2 separate regions of the Homo sapiens genome follow, and region 1 is linked to region 2. The links are contacts of gene promoters, found by promoter capture Hi-C in human tissues and cell types (Jung and others, 2019). All regions are on one chromosome and are shown on one strand. The core of a region is centred on a gene start or on the middle of the fragment in contact, and the rest is flanking DNA. Distances in the headings are between cores, read along the strand shown.

The links. The method cuts DNA at HindIII sites, captures the fragments that hold promoters and counts their contacts. A contact is called where the count stands out against the background at its distance.
Region 1: a contact is called between a fragment that was not itself captured here and the fragment with the promoter of BAZ1B in region 2, in 1 of the 25 tissues and cell types used here (dorsolateral prefrontal cortex).

Annotation. Positions count from the first base shown.
Region 1 is chr7:74,704,978-74,712,170 of GRCh38, reverse strand. GTF2I (general transcription factor IIi) reads right to left here. Exons shown (of 35, transcript NM_032999.4): 7 at 6,953-7,007; 8 at 5,738-5,781; 9 at 1,062-1,139. The region is part of intron 2 of GTF2I-AS1 (GTF2I antisense RNA 1); the gene reads left to right. Among named protein-coding and RNA genes, the nearest start is that of GTF2I-AS1, 20 kb to the left of the region's middle. The HindIII fragment of the contact is 4,442 bases long and covers 617-5,058 here.
Region 2 is chr7:73,519,605-73,526,010 of GRCh38, reverse strand. BAZ1B (bromodomain adjacent to zinc finger domain 1B) reads left to right here and starts at 3,718. Exons shown (of 20, transcript NM_032408.4): 1 at 3,718-4,184. The coding sequence starts at 4,078. RefSeq lists enhancers at 222-291, 3,375-3,534 and silencers at 3,105-3,244, 3,595-4,474. The HindIII fragment of the contact is 11,404 bases long and covers 1-6,152 here.

The sequences.
Region 1 (7,193 bases), core at 1,588-4,087, 1.2 Mb before region 2:
GAGACCAGCCTGGCCAACATGGTGAAACCCTGTGTCTACTAAAAAACACAAAAATTAGCCAGGTGTGTTGGCACACACCTGCTATCCCAGCTATTCGGGAGGCTGAGGCAGAAGAATCACCTCAACCTGGGAGGTGGAGGTTGCAGTGAGCCAAGATCGCGCCACTGCACTCCAGCCTGGGCAACAGAGTGAGACTCTGTCTCAAAAAAAAAAAAAAAAAAGAGAGAAATGAAGGCCTATGTCCACACAAAAGCCTCTACACAATGTTCATAGTACCTCTATTTGTAATGGCCCCAAACTGGAAGAACCCAAATGGCTATCAACAGACAAAGAAATGAATAAATTTTGACTCAGGCATACAATAGAATACAAATCAACAATCAAATGGAATCTACTACTGATACGTGCAACGCTGTGGATGAATTTCAAAACAATCATTTGAAATGAAAGAAGCCACACTGCTCCCCGGCCCATGAAAATAGTCCACATTTTATTATTTCATTCATAAGACTTTATAGAAAATGCAAACTAACCTAAAACAGAAAACAGATCCGTGTTGCCTGAATACTGGGCAGGGCAATGAATAACAAGGGGACACAGGAAACTTTTGGGGTTATAGATATTTCATTATCTTGGATGCAATGAAGATGGTGTATTAGATATGTAGATGGCAAAGCTAACCAGATTTTTTACTTTAAGTGTTTAATATACTATAATTATGCAGTGAGAAAAAATTAAGCTGACATTATCTGCATTTGCCTAATAGGTTTGTTTTATTTTGCAACACTAGAACCTGGGATTGAATTCTAAATTGTGCCACAACTTTTGCTCATCCTTTTAAGAACACAAATGGCTATTTTACATATCCCCTCTGGATTGTCTGAGTTGATCTTTTAGCCCCATTTTTAAATGTTTTATCCCCGGGACTGAATTACAATATATATGTCAATCAAGAACTGATCAATAAAATATTATTTAAGAAATTAAAGCAATTGATGAGCAAATTTTAATTTTAACCACGAATAATTTTTAGAAAGAAAAATTGCATTAATTCAAATTACCTTGAATGTTATATTGATAATAATCAGGATCTTCTGATTCTTCCTTTACTGTCACAGCTGCCATTTCCAGGGAAATGCCTAGAAAAGCAAATGCAATGATATGATTGCATGTGAGAACTTTCAGCTAGATTGTGTAGGGAAATCCTCTCTGCCCTCCCTATAAATACAGCAATGCATATTTATTTTAAGTAAAGACTTTACGTCTTTGAAAAGACAAAAGTTTGCTAGGTAGCAGAAGGTAAAAAATCACTATAATCCCAGCCAATGCAAAGTTTTAACCATTTATTAATATTCTGCAATTATGTGCTGCTCTTTTCTCCAGCAAATTCTTATCTTTAGAATCAAAGAAAATTTTACCACACTCCCTTTTCACTTAATATTAAAAATACTTTTATAAACCATTGAAACACACTTATAAACATCAGTTTTAATAACTCAGTATTCCAAAGGAGAGATAGCATAATGGTCAACAATTTCAATAATGAGATACATTGGTTTTTTTCTGCCTAATACATCCCTTTTATTACAGGGATTTGTGTAAGGGTACAAAGCACACCTTTCTGCATAAAGCTTTGCCCACAATTAGGACAGATGATTTGAAGCAGACCTTTGTGGCCAGATACAAAAGAGTACATGTTGTGTAATTCCACTCATATGAAGGTCAAAATAGGCAAAAGCAATCGATGTTATTAAAAAGTTGACTTTGGGAAGGGCCAAAATTGTGCCACTGCACTCCAGCCTGGGTGACACGGCGAGACTCCCTCTCAAAAAAAAAGAAAAAGAAATGAACAATGCATGGGTGCACATACACATTTCAGACTGAGATATTCAACCACAGTCATACCAACCCTAACACAAACGAAATCGTGAGCTCTGACTTGGGCAACTTTGTAAAGAATATTTTCAACTCTAGAGAAAGAGCTCAAAGAGAGTTAAATTGATATACAAAGGGTATGCATCCCTGAAGCAACAAGCAAAAAAAGGAGTTACTCCATTGCCTTCAATCACCAAGGGGAAAGTGTTTTGCTGCTACACAGTGGTGGCAGAGAACACTGCATCTGAGACCTTTGCAACTCTCTGGGCTAACTTAGCACTTTCATGTCCATCAGTAAAAGTTAATAGAAAATTACAGCTAACAGCCAGGTGCGGTGGCTCGTGCCTGTAATCCCAGCACTTTGGGAGGTCCAGGCGGGCGAATCACCTGAGGTCAGGAGTTCGAGACCAGCCTGGCCAACATGGTGAAACCTCGTCTCTACTAAAAATACAAAAATTAGCCGGGAGTGGTGGCACGCACCTGTAGTCCCAGCTACCCGAGAGGCTGAGGCACAAAGATCACCTGAACCCAAGAGGTGGAGGTTGCAGTGAGCGGAGATGGTACCACTACACTCCAGCCTGGGCGACACAGCAAGACTCCGTCTCAAAAAAAAAAAATAAAGAAAGAAAGAAAATCACAGCATTACAGCTAACAAAAAAGGCAGATCCACTGGGGATTCAGACCCTTCAGGAATAAAAATTTGGGTCACTCCAATTGGCTAAAGAACCTTACACATACTGGCTGGGTGCAGAGGCTAATGCCTATAATCCCAGCACTTTGGGAGGCTGAGGCGGATGATTACCTGAGGTCAGGAGTTCAAGACCAGCCTGGTCAACATGGTTAAACCCCGTCTCTACTAAAATAAATAAATGAATAATACAAAAATTGGCTGGGTGGCACACGTCTGTAATCCCAGCTGCTCGGGAGGCTGAGGTGGGAGAATCGCTTGAATCTGAGACACGGAGGTTGTGGTGAGCCGAGATCGCACGACTGCACTCCAGTCTGGACGACAGAGTGAGACCTTGTCTCAAAAAATATAAATAAATAAAAATAAAAAGGTAAATCCAAAAAAAAGTCTGGTAAGCTGCAGAAACGTAGACTGTGGCGACTATGCCTATTGTCTTCCTTGTCTGTTACAAATGTGTTTGTGTGAAGATTATATGCTTGCATATACTAACTATTCTCTTCTGTGTGGTAGTATTTCACAATAGTTTGGCTGGAAGTTTCCTTTCCATTTGTCCATTAGACTAGAGATTACTCAAATAGGTTTGCACTGCATTTAAAGAGCAGGTAACATAGCTCGCGACTGGATTTTCAGTCAGTCTCCCAGCGATGGGTGTGACTGCTGGAACACTGTGTCCCCCCATTTTGAGGAGAGAGTAAAAATGGATTTCTTTGTAGGAAGTAAAGTTGCATCTCTTTAGATGGAACAGTTGTCTCGTTGTTGTACAGAAGGTCAAATGTGCAGGGAAGGGTGTGTATATATGCTGAGCAGCCAAAGAGAACAGCCTGGGCCACCCACAAAACTGATGTCTCTCAGTTGCAAACCCATCCTCTGGGTTTCTGCTGAAGTTTGAGCTCTGCATAGCAGCTGGCTCCATGTGAGTCTCTGCCACAAAGATACACTACAGAGAGAAAGGCTAGAGGAGGAGAAGAGATCTGGGCCTTCCTTTTGGCTTCTTGTCTGCATTCTCATCCCAAAAAGGTCACTCCTTGGTACCCTCGTTCAGCCTGGCCAAAGCAGGCCCTCCCATCACAACAGCTGTGCCCGGCTGGCAATGTCTCCAACACTACCAGAAGCAGCCTCACCATGCCCCTCAGCCACCAGCACCAGCCAAACACTACCCCACCTCAGAAGTCAGATGGAAAGCTGATGGGGTGGCAGCCACTGCCTAGAATTGTTCCTTAAAAAAAACCTTAGTATTCTCCTTAAGGTTACAAAGTTAACAATTTTATAACCAGTTAACAATCTGTTTTTGTTTGTTTTGTTTTGAGATGGAGTTTCACTCTTGTTGCCCAGGCTGGAGTGCAATGGCACGATCTTGACTCAATGTAACCTCTACCTCCTGAGTTCAAACGATTCTCCTCCCTCAGCCTCTTGAGTAGCTGGGATTACAGGCGCCCACCACCATGCCCTGCTAATTTTTTTTGTATTTTTAGTAGAGACTGGGTTTCACCATGTTGGCCAGGCCGGTCTCCAACTCCTGACCTCAGGTGATCCACTCGCCTCAGCCTCCCAAAGTGCTGGGATTACAGGTGTGAGCCACTGCACCCGGCCAACAATCTTTACATTAAATTTTCTCTGTTCCAATAACTGATATGGTTTCTGTCTCCTGGCTGCACCCTGGCTATAAATGTACATCTTATTTGCAGGATAAATTAAGAATACAAAGATGCAAAGTGTAAAAGAGAAAAAAAAAAACCTATAATGATGCTGATGTGTACATAAAGACAGTTGAAAGAATTCAATTAAACACATGGGGTTTCTGAATTCAGCATGTTTCTTTTTAGAAGCAAACTAAATATTCAGGAGATGAATATATGAATTAAGGGGAAACATTTGCAAAATGATGATTTTTTTTGGCACAATCTACTGAAAACCACACAAAAATTTGAGATTTCCTATGGAGTGAAAATAAAGAAAAAAGAAAAACCTTCTGTAAAACCAGCAAACAGTGTAAAAGACTCAAATACCTTTTCCAAAAAAGGATAATTCAACACTTTCTTGCAGCTCTCCCAAAATACACTTACATACATAAAAGCTCTCATTCACATGCACGCACACACACGTTAACGCGGCCCTACCCTCCTCCCCAACAACTCATTCGAGATGCCCTTAGATGGGGTGAAGCGGGGCAGGTGGCTGCCCAGGAAGCATGGCAGAATGAGAAGGCTGACAAAGGGCCGGGGAAGGGGCTGGGGAAGCTGCCGAGGGCCTGGTCAGACAGAGGGAGATGAGGGGGCAGGCAGGGCGGTGACAGCCCACTAAGGAGTGTCCCGTGTGAATAAGGGGCACAGGGCCGAGCAGCGGGAGGCTTGACAGTGGCACTAGGACACAGGATAACACTGGGAAATGATGAAATAAATACATATGCTGAGAACATCTGGGTGCCACGGTTCTAGGACAGAACAGAATTATAAACGGGGGCCGGGCACGGTGGCTTATGCCTGTAATCCTAGGACTTTGGAAGGCTGAGGCAGGAGGATCACTTGAGGTCAGGAGTTCAAGACCAGCCAGGCCAACCTGGCGAAACCCCGTCGCTACTAAAAATACAAAAATTAGTCGTGCGTGATGGCGTATGCCTGTAATCCCAGCTACTCGGGAGGCTGAGGTGGGAGAATCGCTTGAACCCAGAGGCAGAGGTTGCAGTGAGCCGAGGTCGTGCCACTGCACTTCAGTCTGGGTGACAAAGCAAGACTCCATCTCAAAAAATAAATAAATAAATAAGGAATTAAATAGCAATTTTATTTGAGAATTGAAAATGGTCTCCTTGGAGAGTGGAAAACAGGAGTGCAGAGAAGGAAGGTGGAGACGAAGGGGGCATTCTATTGATTTTTGTAAAAAGCACTATAGAACAGCTGACCTCTTACATTATATGTCTGTACAACGGGAAAAAAAAATACATTTTATCTACAAACATATGTAACTGGCAAAGAACTCTGCCTACCACTTACTGAGCAAATTACCTTTCTGGGTCTTAATGTGATAACATTAACAAATAGTGTCACAGTTGGAATACATTAGTAGTGACTGCCTCTTTCTTATCAAAACAAAACAATAATTGAGTCAAACTATAAACTTCTACACTAAGGAAAAGTCTTCCTTAATTTCACCATTGATTCTAAAAGTGCTAGTACATACCAGAATCTTCTGTGGGTTCAGTTTTCACTTTGATGGGGCCACAACTGCAAGGAGAAGAAAGCCCTGATCAAGCCACGTGCTGGTGACAGCCATTCCCACAGCATTCAAAGTCTCTGGGTCTCAAAGTGTTAAGATCCCTCCCTTGACCAAGGTGGGTGCAAACCTGACTCAGCTTAAAACTGACATATTTATTTATTGCATAAATAAGAGTTATTGGGCCGGGCACAGTGGCTCACGCCTGTAATCCCAACACATTGGGAGGCCGAGGCGGGCAGATCACGAGGTCAGGAGTTCAAGACCAGCCTGGCCAATATGGTGAAACCTCATCTCTACTAAAAATACAAAAATTAGCCAGGCGTGGTGGCGCTCACCTGAATCACTTGAATCCGGGAGGTGGAGGTTGCAGTGAGCTGAGATCATGCCACTGAACTCCAGCCTGAGCCACAGAGGGAGACTCTGTCTCCACAAAAAAAAAGAGTTATCAACTGAACTTAGTACTTCAATTTCTATCTATCTTTTGGGGAAAAAAGTACAATAAAATACTACAGAGTAGCATATTAAGACTTATCGGGCCAGGCGTGGTGGCTCATGCCTGTAATCCCAGTACTTTGGGAGGCCGAGGCAGGTGGATCACCCGAGGTCAGGAGTTCGAGACCAGCCTGGCCAACACGGTGAAACCCCGTCTCTACTAAAAATACAAAAAAATTAGCTGGGCATGGTGGCACATGCTTGTAGTCCCTGCTATTTGGGAGGCTGAGGCAGGAGAATCGCTTGAACCCAGCAGGGGGTCAGAGGTTGCAGTGAGCCGAGATCGCGCCACTTCACTCTAGCATGGGCAAAAAGAGCAAAACTCCATCTCAAAAATAAAAAAAAAAAAAAAGAGTTACCAACTGAACTTAGTACTTTAATTTCTATCTATCTTTTGGGGAAAACAGTATAATAAAATACTACAGAATAGCATATTAACTTCCAAATACCACTCTAAGGCCAATTCACAGTGTGACCAATGCCTCTGGCTTTTCCCAGGAACTCTACTATTCAGAAATACCAAGTCAAAGAGGGCATGTTCACAAGATCCCCAAATGATATCCTTGCCTATTAAACTTTAAGATGTGTGACATGAGGCCTTTTTAATATTCTGATATCTCAATTATCTAACAACTAAAACTTTTTGAGGTGTGGGAGTTAAACAGCAGTAATGAAATTAGGTTTTACCTTCCACCTGGAGATAGTATTGACCTGTCAGCATCTGTTACCATCACACGACCACCTACATACAAAAAAAAAAAATTGGAGTTAGTTTTTCAACATTTCAAATATAATATGTCTAAAGGCTTTAAATATAGAATTAGTGGGGTAGAACTAGGCTTTGCAGCTCTGGATCACACCAGAATAAACACTGCTTTTCATCCCTTCACCCAACCACAACCTCCTTGAATGAAAAAGCTCTTATTTT
Region 2 (6,406 bases), core at 2,469-4,968:
GGCAACACAGTGAGACCCCATCCCCGTCACCGTCTCTACAAAAAAGAAAATACTTAGCAGGACATGGTGGTGTGTGCCTGTAGTCCCAGCTACTCTGGAGGCTGAGGATCTTGAGTCCAGGAGGTCGAGGTTGCAGTGAGCTGTGATCCCCCACTGCACTCACTCCAGCCTGGGCGACAGTGCAAGATCTTGTCTCAAAATGAGACAAAACGCAAAAACCATAAATCCATTTCCCCGAGATGAGCACTGTTCTTTATTTGGGGTCTCTTCATAAGCTCTATATGGTTCCTGAAGCTCAAGTTTCTGTACTGTGACCACCAAGCCCCACCTCCAGCTCCCACTTCCTCCCTCAGAATTTCCGGCTGTGTTCTGGATGGCTCTTCAGGGTACCTGGAGTTCACATGGCTGAAACCAAGCCCATTACCGATTTTCCCATCTCAGATCCCATCTTCACCAATCCCAGCAATGGATTCTAGCCCACAGCGGACCCAAGCGCTGAAATGATTATGGTGCCCAGTTCACATGTGCAAAGTGAGATGCTGTTCTGAAATATCAAATTGTTTTCTTTTGCTTTTTTTTTTTTTTTTTTGAGATGGAATTTCGCTTTATCGCCCAGACTGGGCACCATCTCAGCTCACTGCAACCTCTGCCTCCCGGGTTCAAGCAATTCTCCTGCCTCAGCCTCCCAAGTAGCTGGGATTACAGGTATGCGCCACCACGCCCGGCTGATTTTTGTATTTTTAGCAGAGACGGGGTTTTGCCATGTTGCCTAGACTTGTCTCAAACTCTTGGCCGCAAAGTATCCTCTCTCCTCAGCCTCCCAAAGTGCTGAGATTACAGGTGTGAGCCACCATGCCTAGCCCTGTAATTCCCTTCTAAGTAGTCACTCCGATTCAGCCATTACAGAATATATCAGGATGGTCACTTCCTTTACCATTCTCATCTGATATATTCTGCCTCAAATCCTCACATTTTGGGCACACGATCTTGAACTTCCAGGCTTCACTCTGCTGTTCTGTCTATAATGTTCGTCCCTCCTTCTCTGTCTAGAGAACTCTTTTCTTTTCTCAATTAACTCAAACGCTATGTGCTCTGGCAAGGCTTCTCCTGCTGTTCTTGGGAGAAAAGTCTACTGCCTCAAGGAAAAGGAACCGAGATCTTTTCTGCTAGGTGATCAGAGGAAACTTCACAGAGGTAGCTTTTGACCTAGACCTCCTAGTGGGGATAGGAGATCCTTGAGGTGAGAAGAAAAGGAGATAGAGGTCTGACATTAGGAGACTGCATTTAGAGACACCTCGCAGTCTAGCCCCGTTGAAGGACAGGCTGGGAAGGTACAGCTGGGAAGGTACAGGCTGGGAAACTTTAAAGTGAAGTTCTTTAAACTAAGGGAGACAGTTTAATAGGGAGATAACTTAATGAGTGTGTTTTTGATTGTACTGGAAAGCCAAACAAATTCTGGATGTGGGTGTTGTCTGCTTGGAGAAGCAACTGAAATGCTCCCCATTTAATAGCATTAAAATAGTTGATGCTATTTTCTTATTCTGCACTTTGTATAGAACTGTGATTATTATTATAATTTTTGAGACGGAGTTTTGCTCTTGTTGCCCAGGCTGGAGCGCAATAGCACAAACTCGGCTCACCGCAACCACCCCCTCTCGGATTCAAGCGATTCTCCTGCCTCAGCCTCTCGAATAGCTGGGATTACAGGCATGCGCCACCACGCCCGGCTAATTTTGTATTTTTAGTAGAGACAGGGTTTCTCCATGGTGCTCAGGCTGGTTTCGAACTCCCGAGCTCAGGTGAGGCGCCCGCCTCAGCCTCCCAAAATGCTGGGATTACAGGCGTGAGCCATCGTGCCCGACCAAACGTACCTATTTCCCCCCCCCCCCCGCCTCCCTGAGACGGAGTCTCGCTCTGTCGCCCAGGCTGGAGTGCAGTGGCACGATCTCCGCTCACTCCAAGCTCCACCTCCCGGGTTCACGCCATTCTGCCTCAGCTTCCCAGTAGCTGGGACTACAGGCACCCGCCACCACGCCTGGCTAATTTTTTGTATTTTTAGTAGAGACGGGGTTTCACCGTGTTAGCCAGGATGGTCTCCATCTCCTGACCCCGTGATCCGCCCGCCTCGGCCTCCCAAAGTGCTGGGATTACAGGGGTGAGCCACTGCGCCCGGCCCAGACGTACCTATTAAAGAGACATCCTGGCTGGGCACAGTGGGTCACGCCTAATCTCAGCACTTTGGGAGGCAGAGGCGGGACAATTGCTTGAGGCCAAGAGTTCGAGACCAGTCTGGGCAACAAAGTAAGACCCTGTCTCTACAAAAAAAATAAAAAATAAAAGGTAGATCCAATTCATTCAAATAGTATTCACTAGCACCTACAATGTTCCGAGCCAGGTGCTGAGTATCATGGGAGAAAAAAAAAAAAAGCCAGAGTCACAGCTCTGGCAGGGCGTGGTGGCTCACGCCTGTAATCCCAACACTTTGGGAGGCCGAGGCGGGTGGATCACCTGAGATCAGGAGTCCGAGACCAGCCTGACCAACATGGTGAAACCCCGTCTCTACAAAATACAAAAAATAGCCGGGTGTGGTGGCGCGCACCTGTAGTCCCAGCTACTCGGGAGGCCGAGGCAAGAGAATAGCTTGAACCCGGGAGGGAGAGGTTGCAGTGAGCCGAGACTGCACCACTGCACTCCAGCCTGGGCAACAAGAGTGAAACTCCGTCTCAAAAAAAAAAATAATGATAATTTTGGGAGGCCTAGGCGGTCGGATCACCTGAAGTCGGGAGTTTGAGACCAGCCTGACCAACATGGAGAAGCCCCGTCTCTACTAATAATACAAAATTGGCCGGGCGTGGTGGTGCACGCCAGTAATTCCAGCTACTTGGGAGGCTGAGGCAGGAGAATCTCTTGAACCCGGGAGGCGGAGGTTGCGGTGAGCCGATATCGCGCCATTGCCCTCCAGCCTGGGCGACAGAGCGAGACTCCGTCTCAAAAAAAACAAAAACCAAAAACCAAAAAACTAAGTACGTCTTTTAATCTATTTCTCCAAAGAAGCTTCTATATTCTACTTTCCAGCCAGCCCCTAGAAACAAGCAGTATACTTCTACCCAGATCTCAACCACACTCCCGCCCAGAAGTTAACTCTGGGGTGAGCAAAGCTGGCCCCCACGTTGTCCTTCCGCAGAACCTTTGGTAGGGTAAGCTCCCGGGGCCACTTCCCGCCAACCCCTCCCTGCAGCCCAGCCCCACCCGCGCATCCCCGGGCGTGGCCGAGCACGGCGCCTTTAAGAAGGGGGAGGCGCCCAAGAGGAAAGACAAAGCCCCTGGCCGCGCGCTCACCCTCCCCCTCCGGCGCACCACACGGACAGTGGTGCCCGGATGTCGGTGTCGCCGTCGGTGACAGATGGCGCAGTATCTGTATATGCGAGGGGCTTCTCCGGCTTGACCTCTTTGAGTTCTCGTCCTCTCCATCCCCCGCTGTCCCCCACTTTTAACTCTGCCGTCGGAGGCCCGCACGCCTATCACGGGCGCTTACATAACGTGACCTTTCACCTCTTCAGACTGCCCTCTAGTGCGCTGCAACCCAACTACGCGACAGGGGCAGGGGGGCGGGACCCAGGCGCGGAGCGGCAGCTCCTCCGAGCCAATAGGCTGTGAGCGCTGACCAGCTCTCCGCCTATTGGAGCATTCGCCACCGGCGCCACGGGGGAGCAAGTTAGTGTGTGCGTTGGCCGGGCCCGGGGGAGGAGGGGAATCTCCCGCCATTTTTCAATAATTTCCTCCGGTGCTGCTGAGGAGGAGTCGTGACTGCCGGCCGCCGGGACCCGAAGCGGAGGTCGGCGGGGGGCTGCTGGGAGGCGCGGCGGTGTGCGCGGGAGCTCTGCGCCGTGGCGTTCCGCTCCATGACTGTCGCGCGGCCGCGCCGGCGGTGAGGGAGCCGGAGTTCGCGCCGCCCTCTCACCCCTCCCTTCCCCCACCCCACCCCCGGGCGCCTGGCGCTCGCTCCGGGCCGCGGGGCCTAGTGCTGCGCCGCGGGGCCGGCCCCAGCAGCCGCCAGTCCCCACCGCCGCCGCCGCGATGGCGCCGCTCCTGGGCCGCAAGCCCTTCCCGCTGGTGAAGCCGTTGCCCGGAGAGGAGCCGCTCTTCACCATCCCGCACACTCAGGAGGCCTTCCGCACCCGGGAGTATCCTTTTCCAGCCGCGCGGGCCGGGCTGGGCCGGGCTGGGCCGGGGTAGGGCCTGGGGCTCGCGAGACCAGGTCAGCCGCGCATCCCCGGCCCGGGGCAGCTGTCAGCGCGCCCCGGCCGCTCGCGGGCCTGGAGGCTGAGTCTCAGCCTGCGCCCGCCGATCCTTCCAGGGGATCCGGCGGGGGGCGCGCACCGGCCCTGGAAGGAGAAGGGCCCGCTTCGGCCGCCCCCGGGGCCCCGCACTTTGTCCCGGGGCCTCGCCGGCGAGGAGCGCATCCCCCATCCCCATTACCTTCCCCGGGTTGGCTTTAGGCCTTGAGGACCCGAGAGGGAGGAGGAGGCGTGGGGAGGGGGAGCTAGGTTTTCTCCTTTAATTTTTACAAAAATTTTTTAAAAATTTAAATGAAACCTGCAGCTTAAGTTTTGAAATTGTACTCGCGCGGCCTCGTGATGCGGCGTGTGCAAGACTCAACTGCGTCTTACCCCGATCTCTGCGGGGATACTTGGCGTTTTTTTCGTCTCCCGAGGGGACTTTAGGCCGGGGATGAACTGACAGGACCCTGGGGCAGAAAACTAGGAATGAGATTCCCCGCTTAGAGGAAAGGGAGGGAAGGAAACTGCCTGTGGAGGAGCTGATGCCTGCCTTCCCTGGGCAGACACAGGTTTGAAATTTTGAAGGTTTAGAAGGAGATTGGTATTTGTTAAAATTAAACAAACAAAAAAACCAAGACGTGAAGTTTTTATGTTGTATTTTAGGAACATGAAATTGGATGTTTTACAAAGGAAGCATCCTCTCGTCATGACTAAGATTTCTTGCATAAGCATTATCTTTTAGTGAAAAGTTGTGCAGCTTTTATTTGCTTTTTTTTAATGGGTGCCAGAAGAATCGTTTTTGAGGCTTATCTGTAAAAAAAACAAAAACGATTTCGGAATCAAGCATTTCTTTGGTGACTGAAAGCTTTAAGAGTGAAGGCTAATGTGTTATGAGTTTTCTCAGCCCCTTCTGTTCGGAAGGACTTCATTTCTCAGTTTCTTGCTTGCTTCTGTATAGGAGGAAGTGTCTCTCAGAGTTATTTCATTTCTCCCTGATCCTCACTTTAACGCAGTACTTTAGAGGATAATCTCATTCTTGTTGGAGTGCAATTTGTGAGTGTCCCTTTGTGGGGAGTATACACACAAAGGGGCCTGGAAAATCAGTCCATGCTGGAGGAAGGCTCTTGGAGAAATAGAGCTGTAGCATCTTGGAGCTGAAGTGGATCTTGGAGGTGGTCGGGTCCTCGGGCTTGGTTTGCTGAGTTGGCCCAGAGAGTGGAGGTTGACTTGTTGAAGGTCAAATGATGAAAGAGGAGTAGAATCCACCGCTCTTCCTACCTCATCCCTGTAAGTCAATCAACAGAAGAAGGTGGAATGTTACTCCTTCACTTTCAATTAATTTAAATATTACCTCACTTTTTTGTCATTATGGTATAAGGTAAGGCACTTTAAAGTGGAGGGGTGGTGATCTGGTTTTTTTCTTGTCCTGTGAAGACTTGGAATGTTCTGGAGAAGTTCCACTAGCTCTACCAAATACTGCATTATACCGAAGTACCCCACTTTTTTTTTTTTTTTTTTTTGAGACGGAGTTTCCCTCTTGTTAACCCAGGTGGCAGTGCAGTGGCACGATCTGGGCTCACTGCCATCTCCGCCTCCAGGGTTCAAGTGATTCTCCTGCCTCAGCCTCCTGAGTAGCTAGGATTACAGGCGCGTGCCACCACGCCCGGCTAACTTTTTGTGTTTTTAGTAGAGATGGGGTTTTACCATGTTGGCCAGGCTGGTCTCAAACTCCTGACCTCAGGTGATCCGCCCATCTCGGCCTCCCAAAGTACTGGGATTAACAGGCGTGAGCCACCGCGCCTGGCCAGTACCCTACTTTTTAATACATTCGAATCGGCAGTGGAGTAGCAACTTGTGAGAATCCGACATATACTTTTCCAATGTCATTAATGTTTTGAGCCGTTGATGGATGCTCACACACTTTCAGATGATACTTTCTCAGGTCTGGTTCTAGCAGAGTATAAGAAACATGCCATAGAGAAGAGACAATTTCTAAGTATATTTCAGGTACTGAGCTATGTAAAAAATGGCTGTAGGAAGTTAATTTAGGACTGGCAACGCAGGCTTTTTCATATTATTGAATGAATGAAATTGAAATATATATATGAAGAGTTTTGATGGTAACA